4 separate regions of the Homo sapiens genome follow, and regions 2, 3 and 4 are each linked to region 1. Evidence: promoter capture Hi-C in 16 types of primary human blood cells and fetal thymus (Javierre and others, 2016). All regions are on one chromosome and are shown on one strand. Each heading gives the region's core, a stretch centred on a gene start or on the middle of the fragment in contact. The rest is flanking DNA. Distances are from core to core; before and after follow the strand shown.

Region 1 (3,133 bases), core at 547-3,046:
AATTCTTTGTCAGCTTGCTGTGATCACATTTTCTTCCCAAGAACCTCTAAGAAATGCCTAGTGGATAGAACCTTGGAGTTCCACGGAACATATTAACAATCGCCAAATGATGACTCAGGCTAGATTGTGTAATTCAGGTTTTGTCTGCAAAACTGAAAATGCTTCGGTAACCTACCTAAATTTCAATGTTGAGGAATTCTTTAAGAAAGACATCAAATGTTAAGATTTAAGGCATAGATATGAGATACATAGTCATGCTTAGGTGAATTATGCACTGACCATGACCATTTCTTTACTCAAATGTTGTCCATGGCTGACAACACAGTGAAAAAATGAGTGCAAAATGACAACTCAAATAAATGAACCAGAAAACCTATCACTTTTCTTTTCCACCAAATTAAGATCAAGAGAGCTGGAGAATATTTTGTCTAGAGTGATAAAAACATAAGGGTGCAAAACTTCCAGGTACCTTTGCAGAAATTACTTCTGTGACCTTTGGCTGTACAGCAACCTTAATAATGCAAGCACTGTTTTGAATGCAAGCATGTGGGAGCCATTTTCACCACTTTTGATGACTTCAGTAGGTTTAAGAAATGTTTTTGCTTTTATTGCATAAACCATAAAACAAAGGAAGGGACTTTTGAACTACTCAGTGAGAGTCTATATATTAAAGTTTGTTTTTCAAAAATGTGTAACTACCATTTGCAGTTTTAAAGGTCTGCTTTCCACCTACAAGTTGCCATTATCTCAAAGGTGAAATTTTAGCATATGACTAAAAACTTCCTATAGTTACAGCTTCATGATTCAGCATCTAACATCAATAATTCACAGTGAGATCATAGGAGGCTCTCTGTGGAAGGTAACGACATACATACGTTAGGAAAGGAAGCTTAGGGCATATCGAGAGCATTTTGAATTTAGACTTGTGGGCTGTGTGGGTGTCAGATGGTTGTCTCTCAGCTGGTGGGCGTCCAGAAGGATCCTTGTTTGGGCAAGGCTCTTTGAGAAAGGAGAATCTGGGTTGCCAGGGATTCCCACATGTGGTCACCAGCTCCCCACGCAGACCAGCTCACGATTTCCCAGTTACACCGGGCAGGTGGGAAACCGTTCTGCTTTCTGTGGAAAAGATTCTAACTTGGTTCCCTGCCATCCCTGAATACAAACGGGTTGGTTTTTCTTTTTTCAGCTTCCAACCCTTGCAGCTTTCCAAAAATAAATCAAACCAGCCATCAGGGCACCGAAATAATACTACTGCTAATAAGCAGCTTCGCCTAGACTTAGATAAACAACACTTCTGAGGTAAACTTTGCCCCGGAGGTCTGGAGACACTTTTTTAATGTAACCTGCTTACTAATAATTACTAGACTTCAGTGCATTAACCCTGGAAATAGATTTTAATAGCCACCCCTTAAAACAAAAGACATGAAAAGATAATAAGAAAAAAGTGCCGCAACTATTATAGAAAAACACTTGGCAGCCTGCTTCAGCCCAAGCTGAGGCCACCTCTAGCCTCTGCTAAAGCCCCCCACTCCCAATGGTCCCCGCCAACCGGATAAGAGTGCGCGCGGGACCCGCCTTCCCCTCTCGGCACCGCCCCCGCCCCCGCCCCCTCGGCTCGCCTCCCGCGTGGCTCCTCCCTTTTCCGCTCCTCTCAACCTGACTCCAGGAGCTGGGGTCAAATTGCTGGAGCAGGCTGATTTGCATAGCCCAATGGCCAAGCTGCATGCAAATGAGGCGGAAGGTGGTTGGCTGAGGGTTGGCAGGATAACCCCGGAGAGCGGGGCCCTTTGTCCTCCAGTGGCTGGTAGGCAGTGGCTGGGAGGCAGCGGCCCAATTAGTGTCGTGCGGCCCGTGGCGAGGCGAGGTCCGGGGAGCGAGCGAGCAAGCAAGGCGGGAGGGGTGGCCGGAGCTGCGGCGGCTGGCACAGGAGGAGGAGCCCGGGCGGGCGAGGGGCGGCCGGAGAGCGCCAGGGCCTGAGCTGCCGGAGCGGCGCCTGTGAGTGAGTGCAGAAAGCAGGCGCCCGCGCGCTAGCCGTGGCAGGAGCAGCCCGCACGCCGCGCTCTCTCCCTGGGCGACCTGCAGTTTGCAATATGACTTTGGAGGAATTCTCGGCTGGAGAGCAGAAGACCGAAAGGTGAGTCGGCCTGCGGACTCTTCCGGCCCGAACTTCTCTTACCTACCCCGCGCTCCCCGGTGCAGCCGGGCTGTGGAAGGCTTGCAGGGGAGGAAGCTAAAAAGTTTGCACAGGGCAACTCCCGCCCTTGCTCCCTCGGGACTCTCCGTGGAGCTCCCACGGACTGAAAGAGCGTGCCCCCCAACCCGAACGAGCCCCGCCGGGGCCTTTGCAAAGGGCAGCAGTGGCCGTCGCTGCCCGTGCGGCTCCCGTGGCTGGCAGCCTGTGGCAGGGGCACTCTCGGGACTTCTCACGGGACGCCCGGTCCTTGGGCGTGCAGGGGTCATGGGGGGTGACGGGGCCGCGGGAGCGCCGGGTTTTCGTAGAGCCCAGGTGCGCGGTGGTGCTTGCATTCGAGAGGGAGGGGCGTGGTACCGGACGAGGGGGGCGGCGATGGCCCCGAGGGCACCGGGGCTGACGGGACCCCTCGCCCTTGCCCGCGTGTAGGATGGATAAGGTGGGGGATGCCCTGGAGGAAGTGCTCAGCAAAGCCCTGAGTCAGCGCACGATCACTGTCGGGGTGTACGAAGCGGCCAAGCTGCTCAACGTGTAAGTGGGGCCCTTGCGCGTCCCCCATGGCACCCCTTCCCGCCCCAGCCCGGGAGGTCGCCTTGGCTGGGCGCCCCTCGCCCGGCCGCGCCACTTCCTGTCGCTTTTCTGCCTGTCTCGGAAGGGAGGGGGCGAGCGGGCCGGGCGGCGACCCCCAGGGACCCGGGCAGTGGTTGAGGGCGCCCGCGCTTCTGCGCTCACTGGCCCCGCCCGCTGCCCCCAGCGACCCCGATAACGTGGTGTTGTGCCTGCTGGCGGCGGACGAGGACGACGACAGAGATGTGGCTCTGCAGATCCACTTCACCCTGATCCAGGCGTTTTGCTGCGAGAACGACATCAACATCCTGCGCGTCAGCAACCCGGGCCGGCTGGCGGAGCTCCTGCTCTTGGAGACCGACGCTGGCCCCGCGG
Region 2 (3,160 bases), core at 487-2,986, 1.4 Mb before region 1:
TCCCACTTTACGCTGCCACCCCCCTGCACAACTGATGGCTGAAGTGCACTGAATATACATCCCTGAAATACACCAGGATCTTCTTGCTTTCCTGCTTTCATATATGCTGTTTCTTCTACCTGGTTGCCTTTTCTCCAAAATATCATTTACATATTCAGCTCAGGGATTATTTTTCACATTGTCACTGTGAACAAATTCTATATATCATCTGATTCTTGGATTCAGGATTAAAATAAATATATAGTCTCAATTCAGGGCCTGGGCCCTGATATATACTATGTGCATAGGAAATACTACTTCCTTTACCCATTTCCTTCTGGAAAGTGCATTTTAACCCTTCATCTTCTTGATATACCTTCTGCAACTCACCCAAAATTACTGTTAATTATTATCTCAAAATCTCTGTTATTACACTTGTCATACTGTATTGTAATTATTTCATTTTTTCCCATTCTAAACTAAAAGCATCCCAAGTTCAAATACTAATCCTCTTTTTCTATATCCTCAATTTATAACATAAAGCCCGGGACATAGCAAATGCTCAATAAATGTTTATGGACTGAACAAATAGGGATGAAATAATGCCCATGCCTGAACCAGATAAGATTAGAAAGGAAGTGAGGCTCATGTTCAGCTTTGTTAAGGCTTACTGAAATATCTGCTAGCTCTCAGGACATGTGCATAGTGCTGACATCCCTTGCTAATCTTGACAACGTGTGACTTTCAAGGCACTTGAAGTGAACTCTTTGTTATCCATCACTTCAGGAAGAAGTGGCAGTGTTAAAAGAAATGGAAGAAAAACAACTAAATGAATTTTTATCATACTATATTGTTCTCTTAGTGCCTGGCATTGTGCTTGCCACAAAGTAGGCACTCAAGTAGCATATTGAATGGAATTGGTTTGAGAACCCAGTTAATCCTTCAGAGAAGTTACTTCTCTGAGACTCACTTTTCTTGTCTGAAAAATGGGCATTTTTTTTTTTTTTGAGATAGAGTTTCACTCTTGTTGCCCAGGCTAGAGAGCAATGGTACAATCTCAGCTCACTGCAACCTCTGCCTGCCAGGTTCAAGTGAGTCTCCTGCCTCAGCCTCCCAAGTAGCTGGGATTACAGGTATGCGTCACAACACCCAGCTAATTTTTTTTTTTTTTTATATATTTTTAGTAGAGAAGGAGTTTCACCATGTTGGTCAGGCTGGTCTCGAACTCCTGATCTCAGGTGATCCACCCTCCTCGGCCTCCCAAAGTGCTGGGATTACAGGCATGAGCCACTGCGCCCAGCTGAAAATGGGCATTTTAATATTCTATATGTTAAGATTGTTGTAAGGGCTAAATGAGAAAAGCTTTATATAGTGATTAAGAGTGAAGACTCTGGAGTCAGACTGCCTCTTTCAAATTCCAGCCACACCACTTTGTGACCTTGGGACAAATTGCTTAACCTCTCTGTGTCCTAATTGCCTCGTCTCCAAAATTAGGATGGAAATTGTGTGTTTTGGTTGTAAGGATTAAATATGTTAACATGTATAAAGCATGTAGAAAGTCCCAGTGTTAGTATTGGTGTTATTAGTGTTATATAACATGACTCAGATAGTACTCAGCACATAGCAAACCACCAATGTGTGGTAGCTAAGATCCCAGCCTTCTGGTATCAGTAGAGAACCACAACAGAAAGCCCTGTTGAGCTCTTTCTAGAAGGTTCTGGTCTACTTTGCTTCCATAATAATACCATCTGAAGGGAGTAATTTTTGAAGTTTAAGACTTTTTTTTTCCTCCTGAGACTATAGAAATCTTGTTATATAGAAATAGTTTTAGAGCTGAAGGTAGAGTTCTCCAGCTCATACATGGGAAAGCTGAAAAGTCAGGAGGGAGAATGGAGCTGACACCAAATATAAAGGGACACCCCTAAATACAGCTTTTTCTCTTAAAAGCAGAGTGCAAAAAAAGATTGTCAAATTACTTAGGACTTCTGGTAAACCAAATCTTAGTTAACTGAAAGCCCTGTCTTGCATAAGCCTGACAGGATGCCACTTTATATGATAGCATCATTACAGCTTGTACAGCACATCAAAGTTGTATTGAAATACATGTTTCAGGGTTGGTACACACCTATTCAGGCATAGGTGTTACAACCCAGGAAGCTTAGCAGGGAGTAGCGCTAGGAGCTGGTGCAAAGCCTCCCTTTGCAGAGAGGACAAAACCCACTAGCAGAGTCTGCAGGAAGGGAAGAGGATTGGCCCTTTTGGGAAAAACTTTACACCCTCTCCAATTACTGCTGAGAAGGAAAAAGCAACCTCATACCCATCTTAACCCATTCTCCTCTCTTTATTGGAAGGGAGGGAGATAAAAAAGGAGGTTGGAGTTAGCCTAGAGAAGAATGAATATGGAAGTTTGCTAAGAGACAAGGAAGGAAGAGGACCACCGAAGTTCCTTTTTCTGCCTCCTGCTTCCCCAAGTGGGTATGATCCTGGGGGCAGGGTGAATTCTGCTTGCTTGCTTCTGATCAACCCCGAGCCAGCACATTATGAAGTTGCCTCCAGAACTGTTCTCGGAAGCCAGGAGCATTTCAGGGAACAGCCTTTCACCCAAGAGGAGGGAAACAAAGCAGGGACTGTCCCCTCAAAATAGAGAACAGGCAACAGAACTCACTGGATCTTTTTCTTGGTTTATTGTCTTGACTTCCTCCCAGTCAGAGCTGTTGACAAGCACCAAAAGCGACCCCTTGGAGTTTTCTGTATTTTTCCTACCCCCTGTCTGGCTGTGTCCACAGAGTAAGCTGGGACCATGGCGATTATCCAGCTTATTTGAATCTTACAGGCAGCCAGGTCAGATAATGCTATTTTCTCTCTGCCCCCTCAGTTGTATTTGGGGCTTCAAATTTCTAGGGTCTAGTCTGGCTAGCACTGCTGGTCTAATAAACTAGATAATGTCCAAAGCCCACATGTGTGCCTCTGATTTCAGGAAAGGTAAGGGGCTAGTGCTTATTCCATTTCTGGTATGTGCCAGGCACAGTGCTAGCCCCTTTGAATATATCACGTCACCTAATTCTCCAAACTAAACTTCTTTGCGTATATTATTGCCCCTATTTCACATATTTGGAAAAAGAAGATTCAGGAAGTATGTGGGGCTCACTCAAGACCACAAAGTTAGTGATAGAATCAGAAC
Region 3 (2,913 bases), core at 414-2,913, 1.4 Mb before region 1:
AAGATGAAGAAAGGAAGGAAGGTATGTGTAAGTCTGGCTTGAAATGAGTTTTATTAAAAACACCTCAATTCTTGTCTGCACATTTTTGAAGAGTGTGAAAAAAAAATGGAGGAAGTTACCTCCAGTGGTTTTGTGGCTTTTTAAGCATGACATACAGGATATTGAATTTAACCCCTGTTTATCTTGAAGTGTATGAATATTTCGGGGATAAACAAAGCAACTATTCTTTGAAATATGCGTCTGTGGCCAAGTGATTCCAGTTACTTGGAATCACAGTTCTGTTGATTCTCTTTTCTGCTTCAAGTATTTGCACACCACAGACATAAGATTATTCATATAATAATTTTTAAAAACCATGTGGTCTTGCTAGAATTTCTGTATAAATGTATAAAAATGTCTTTTAAATATGGCAGGAATGTTATATTAGAACTCCATGTGAGATTTTACATTTTATTAGTGCCTATTGTGTGTTTGTATTTCAGAAATCTTGGTAGAGTTTATAAATGCTATTTCTCTCAAAAACAGTCGTGTATATAGGAGAGTCCAAGTGCTTTTTACAACTCTCTGTAGCTTCATTAATTCATCTAGCATTTATAAAGTTATTTCAGTGCTTATTAAGATAGATTTCTTAAGCCAGTAACCTGAAGTATTTGTTTAGATTCACAAACTTTTGGATATAAAATGACATGTTAAGGATATGTAAAAAGAATTTTAATTATCTAGCAAAAAAATGTGATTTTCACAACAATATTTTTTGTGTGAAATACCAACAATATTTCCAGAAAGTCTAGAGTCTTAGGGCAACAAATTGGAGCCCCCAGCTTTAATCAAAATAAAAATCTGCAGAGTGTTCACATCTGGCTCCACCTGAAAGTCCGGTTCAGAATTTCCCTGTGATCCTGGCACTTGCAGAAGGGAAGTTTTAGCTTTGTTTAGTATAACAAGAGCTGCAGGACTCCCAGGCCAATAAACGTGTTCACGTAAAACTCCAGACAGCTTCTTTTAGACTGGAGTCTTATCAGGGAGACCTCATTTTCCCTCTAATTAAAGGAAAGATTTAAGGGAGAGAAAGGAATAGCCTATGCCTCTTACTTGTGCGGGTCAGTGTTCGCTGAATTAGAAGTTATTCCAACATGAACACAATCCTCAGGATGAATGACTGCCTAGACTTTGAACGTAATGGTCAACCAGTTTTCACCCGAATTTTGACTGTTTCATTTAGAAGAAAAGCAAAATGAGAAAAAGCTTTCCTCATTTCTCCTTGAGATGGCAAAGCACTCAGAAATGACATCACATACCCTAAAGAACCCTGGGATGACTAAGGCAGAGAGAGTCTGAGAAAACTCTTTGGTGCTTCTGCCTTTAGTTTTAGGACACATTTATGCAGATGAGCTTATAAGAGACCGTTCCCTCCGCCTTCTTCCTCAGAGGAAGTTTCTTGGTAGATCACCGACACCTCATCCAGGCGGGGGGTTGGGGGGAAACTTGGCACCAGCCATCCCAGGCAGAGCACCACTGTGATTTGTTCTCCTGGTGGAGAGAGCTGGAAGGAAGGAGCCAGCGTGCAAATAATGAAGGAGCACGGGGGCACCTTCAGTAGCACCGGAATCAGCGGTGGTAGCGGTGACTCTGCTATGGACAGCCTGCAGCCGCTCCAGCCTAACTACATGCCTGTGTGTTTGTTTGCAGAAGAATCTTATCAAAAATTAGCAATGGAAACGCTGGAGGAATTAGACTGGTGTTTAGACCAGCTAGAGACCATACAGACCTACCGGTCTGTCAGTGAGATGGCTTCTAACAAGGTAAGAGATGATCTTTTTATTCATTAAAGTGTGATCATGCAGGGAGCTCCAGCTCCCCTCACCCCTGTCTGCAGCAGAGTGCACCAGGGAATGCTACCAACTCTAAGAATATGTTTGTTGCTTTGTCTAGAAGATTCTCTTCCAAAGTGTCACACTCTACTTGTGTCTTGATGCTACAGCAAAAGTTTAAAATCCTCAGTACGCTTCAATTTCCAGAAACAAAACTTCTCTCTTACTGATGCAGTTTGGAATAGGTTTAAGGTGAGAGATGTCTGTCTGTAAAGCTTCCAAATCAATATAACATTGAAAGTGCTTTAAAATTTTTTTACAATTATCAGGAAGCTAAAATCTGAGTTAGTCTTGTTGCATTGCAATCAGGTGTCACATATTTATTTTTAAACAAGAAAGTAGTTTAACCTTCATATATCAATGGGAAAGAATGGTCTGTGTTGAAGTTTGATAAATTCCCTCTAAAAAGAAGGATATCCTGGGATTTTCTAAGATTTCTTTTGCGATGCTGGCATGACCTAAGATAAAAAAGAAACAATATGCTTTGTCTCCAAAACCAGAGGTTTTCTTTAAGTTTGCTGATTTTCATAGTGAAATCATTTGAAATTGCTTCATGCATACTGCCCCCAAAATGGTTTTATTTACAATCCCCAGACAAAGCTTAATGTTGAAGAGCCTTAATTATCTATCATTATATCATTTGTTTAATTAACACCTGGACTTAGAATGCTAATTTATGTAGTGAGAGTTGTTGCTTTTTGTTTGTATTTTTACCTTGGAGAATATTATATTAAATACATATTGCTATAAAGTTATACAAAGTTATATATGTGTGTGTACACACACACACACACACATACACTTTGTTAAAAAGCCTTACACCATACCCTCATAGGTGCACATTTCAGAGTCCCAGTCATTCTAGCCTGAAGTATCATCTTGTTGTCTACGTTTCTGGGGCTGAGAAGATATTTTGCTCCACACCTGCCAGCATGCCCTTTCCAGCCCTGAGGTGCACCAGTGAGTGTGTGTCCCTTCTCCAGCTTTCCTGGGGTAAAAGTACCACCTTTGGATCAAGGCTTGCTGGCTGCGGCTCAGAGGA
Region 4 (3,243 bases), core at 481-2,980, 1.9 Mb after region 1:
GCCTTCCTTTTGTAATCTTGATCTGACCCAACTTCATGGCCTTTGGGACCTTGCTCTATTCTCCTTTCTCTATATCTTCAATAGCTTACTCTGAGTAACTCATTTCCCTCCATGTAAACATCTTCATGTCTCACCCATCAAAAGCAAATATTTCCCATCGAGGGTCTCCCCTCTAGCCACTGCCCCATTTTACTCCTTCCTCAACCAAGCTCCTTGGAAAAAAAACTGTGACACTCACTGCTCCCATTTTCTTACCTCCCACTCTTCAATCTCCTAAAACAAGCAAACAACAAACAAAAATGTCTTAACATCCCCAGGAAGTTCATGGATCATTTAGCAGTGCATCCCAATGCACTCATCTTTCTAAACTTTTCACTTGTATTTTACTTGTGGTTCATTTGTTCCTTTTTAAAACTCTACATTCATTCTTAGCATTTCAAGAAAATTTGTATCTTGAAATATTCTTTTTGTCAAAAGGTCTCTGTGATCAAGTTTAAGAGAAAAAAGCAATAGAACACTTTTTTGCAGATCTTTACATACATGATTATATTTAAGTGTAAACGCATACTTTTTTACTCCTCTGTCATAAAAATCATGCTCACTACAATATTTCCATTAGTCTAGCTTCAGGGAATGGAAAATGGAGGGAATATTTTCTCTGGAAGGAGTATTCTATGGATGAAAGGAAATCTGGTCAAATCCTGGGGAAGTGGAAATTTCGCCTCTTTGATTTCAGATAGATACTTGGAAGGACAAGAGATCCTGAAGAGGAGGAATTAAGCGACGGGATGTGTGTGGCCTGTTCTTTCATTTCCAGCCTAAAGTAGGGCTGTTTGCTATGTAGGTGAGGGGAAATTCAGGGGCAGAAAGGCCATTCTGTCATTGGTTTTAGTAGGGAGAACCTCCTGCAAAAGTATTCTGCATAACCAATGGCAACTATATTAATGTGTTTAAACAAAGTCAAGTCAGTGGCATCATGTGTTTGGACAGAGGCTAACAAGAGTTACCCGTCCAGTGTCAATTCCAGCTTGCCCTGTGGGTTTAGCAGGTGGCCAGAAGTTCCAAGTGGCCTTCGAGAGGCACGCAAAGCTGCTGGCTAGCAAGCTTACCCTACGAGTTGCTGTGACTGGGAAAAGTAACTCTGCAGTTGTAGATTAGGGTTCAGTTAAGGTACATCCAGACCTCAAGTGCTGGTGAGGACTAAGATAGGGTCGAGTTATCAGGGAAGACAACAGGCCCTGGCCAAACTCAGAAAAAACATCATATGCTCACCAGCTGCCAACTTGGATAGTAAATTTTAGCTGAAAGAGCAGTGACCAAGTAGACAAGAGAGTAATCGCTACAGAGTCCAAAAGGAACACCCATAGATACAGGGCTCTCTTTCTAAGACAAGAACACAGTAATCTGCTATAGAAATCCAAATGCCATTTGCGGGAAAAGCAGAAGTTTGCAGAACTGTGAAAAACTGAGCATGTACCTATAAGAATTTAAACTAATTTAAACTAAAAATTATTACCACTAGGTAGTTTGTAAATTTAAAATGATCTTTAAAAATAAAAAGCAACTCCCTAACTACCCAGAAAAGTGAGGGTGAATTAGAAATATTAGATTTGAAAATATTTTAAAAGTTCGCATTTTACACTTTACGTGATTGTGCTGAGTGCATTTAAAATGGCACCAAGAAATTCCCCAGATATAATTACAGCAAAACTCTTTCTTTCTTTCTTTGTTTTTAGCACCCATTAGCATGCAATAGAAGAGATATTCTGAGGAACTTACTTGATTACTCTCTGCTCTACAAATTTATTTTCATGATAATTTGCTTTCACAGTTTCTGAATTACTCAGGTTTCTCCAGAGAAATAGAACCAATAGGACAGAGAGAGCCAAGGGGTGTGTGGAGAATAGATATATGCCTGGCAAGTTCACATCTGATCCGAAATGTGGGCCAGTAGGCTTGAGACCCGGGAAACCTGATGGTGCAGGTGGAATCTGAAAGCAGTTTGCTCAAGAATTTTCTCTTCCTTGGGAAGGCTGGGTTTTTTGTCGTATTCAGGCTTTCAGTTGATTGGATGAGACCCACCCACCTTACAGAGAGCAATCTGGTTACCCTAAATTCACTGGTTTAAGTGTTAATATCATCCAATAACAGTTTTGCCCTCATCTTTCTGCCTTTTCATTTGCAACTTCGTCCACAGGTTCCTTTTCCCCTGCTAACTCTCGTTTACTGAGACATCTACTCTTGGTCCCCTGCTCCTTTCTCTCCACAGTCTTTTCACTATTTCATCTAGTCTCACAATTGTAATTGCCGTTTAGACACTAACAATGTAAATCCATCATACCTATGATGTCACCTTTAAGCTTCAGGTGCATATATTTATATTCTAGCAGTACCAATTCATTTGGCATGTCATAAACACAGATTCAACAGCTTCCAAATTAAACTCTCCAAATTTCCCTTTTCCCACTCCACTCCTTATTGCTACCTGCTAACATTCCGTCTATGCCTAATTCATCCCCTAGTCCTGCTGACATAATCTCAGCATTTTAAAGTTGTAACAACTTAGCTGGGCACACAAAGCTCTGAGTGACCTAAAACCCATTTTTTTCTAACTTCATTTTTTGAAATACTGAAGTCTGTACACATGTTTTGTCTCCATACCTTATTTCAGGGTTACTCTTTGGCCTAGAGCACTATCCCATCTCCTGTTTATTCACCTGGGTAACCTCTTTTCAACTCTGGATGTCGTTGCCTGAATCTGCAGACAGAATGACGTGTTTCCCTGTCTTCCTGTGTTCTACTCATTTCCCTCTGCTTGTCTAGCAGAGCACTGACATTAGAAGGCTCAAAATTCTACTCTCAGGGCTAGAATGACTCTAGCATGTTCCTGCTCCTTGAGAGCAGAAGCATTCTACATCTTTCTAGCCTTAGCACCTATCACAATGCCAAGGAGAGAAGGCGGTTACAAAGATTTTTTTTTTAACCTTTGCATTGAATGTACAGGTTAAATTGGCTGACTTTAAAAGGTTTCTGAAGAGCAGTAGTTCTCAGACGTTAAGACCCTTGAATGTCCTTAAGGTCTTTACAAGTAATGTGAAAAGCCAAAACTATTTTCATAATAATATCAAGACATTGTTTGCTTTATTCATTACATTGAAATTTTCACTAATGGTGCAAGAGCAATGGTCAGAAAAATTGCTGGCTTTAAGGCAAGAATCAAGGTGGTGGCCCTGAGCTATACTG

Evidence for each region. Contacts are between HindIII fragments. The CHiCAGO score rates a contact against its expected background, and 5 or more counts as called.
Region 2: a fragment that was not itself captured here is called in contact with the fragment with the promoter of GADD45A in region 1 in 3 of 17 cell types (total CD4 T cells, total CD8 T cells and activated CD4 T cells); the score reaches 5.8 in total CD4 T cells.
Region 3: a fragment that was not itself captured here is called in contact with the fragment with the promoter of GADD45A in region 1 in 1 of 17 cell types (naive CD4 T cells); the score reaches 6.2 in naive CD4 T cells.
Region 4: a fragment that was not itself captured here is called in contact with the fragment with the promoter of GADD45A in region 1 in 1 of 17 cell types (erythroblasts); the score reaches 5.6 in erythroblasts.

The regions. Positions count from the first base shown.
Region 1 is chr1:67,683,405-67,686,537 of GRCh38, forward strand. GADD45A (growth arrest and DNA damage inducible alpha) reads left to right here and starts at 1,797. Exons shown (of 4, transcript NM_001924.4): 1 at 1,797-2,134; 2 at 2,621-2,722; 3 at 2,946-3,133. The coding sequence starts at 2,091. RefSeq lists silencers at 1,461-1,640, 1,651-1,710, 1,901-2,060, 2,531-2,660, 2,731-2,870 and enhancers at 2,768-3,133, 2,971-3,020, 3,051-3,133. The HindIII fragment of the contact is 4,802 bases long and covers 888-3,133 here.
Region 2 is chr1:66,273,192-66,276,351 of GRCh38, forward strand. The region is part of intron 7 of PDE4B (phosphodiesterase 4B); the gene reads left to right. Among named protein-coding and RNA genes, the nearest start is that of PDE4B-AS1, 220 kb to the left of the region's middle. The HindIII fragment of the contact is 795 bases long and covers 1,340-2,134 here.
Region 3 is chr1:66,330,819-66,333,731 of GRCh38, forward strand. It overlaps PDE4B (phosphodiesterase 4B), which reads left to right. Exons shown (of 17, transcript NM_002600.4): 8 at 1,690-1,802. Among named protein-coding and RNA genes, the nearest start is that of SGIP1, 200 kb to the right of the region's middle. RefSeq lists enhancers at 2,695-2,754, 2,785-2,834. The HindIII fragment of the contact is 841 bases long and covers 1,244-2,084 here.
Region 4 is chr1:69,539,058-69,542,300 of GRCh38, forward strand. All of the region lies in intron 3 of LOC105378789 (a long non-coding RNA gene), which reads left to right. Among named protein-coding and RNA genes, the nearest start is that of LRRC7, 27 kb to the right of the region's middle. The HindIII fragment of the contact is 1,256 bases long and covers 1,103-2,358 here.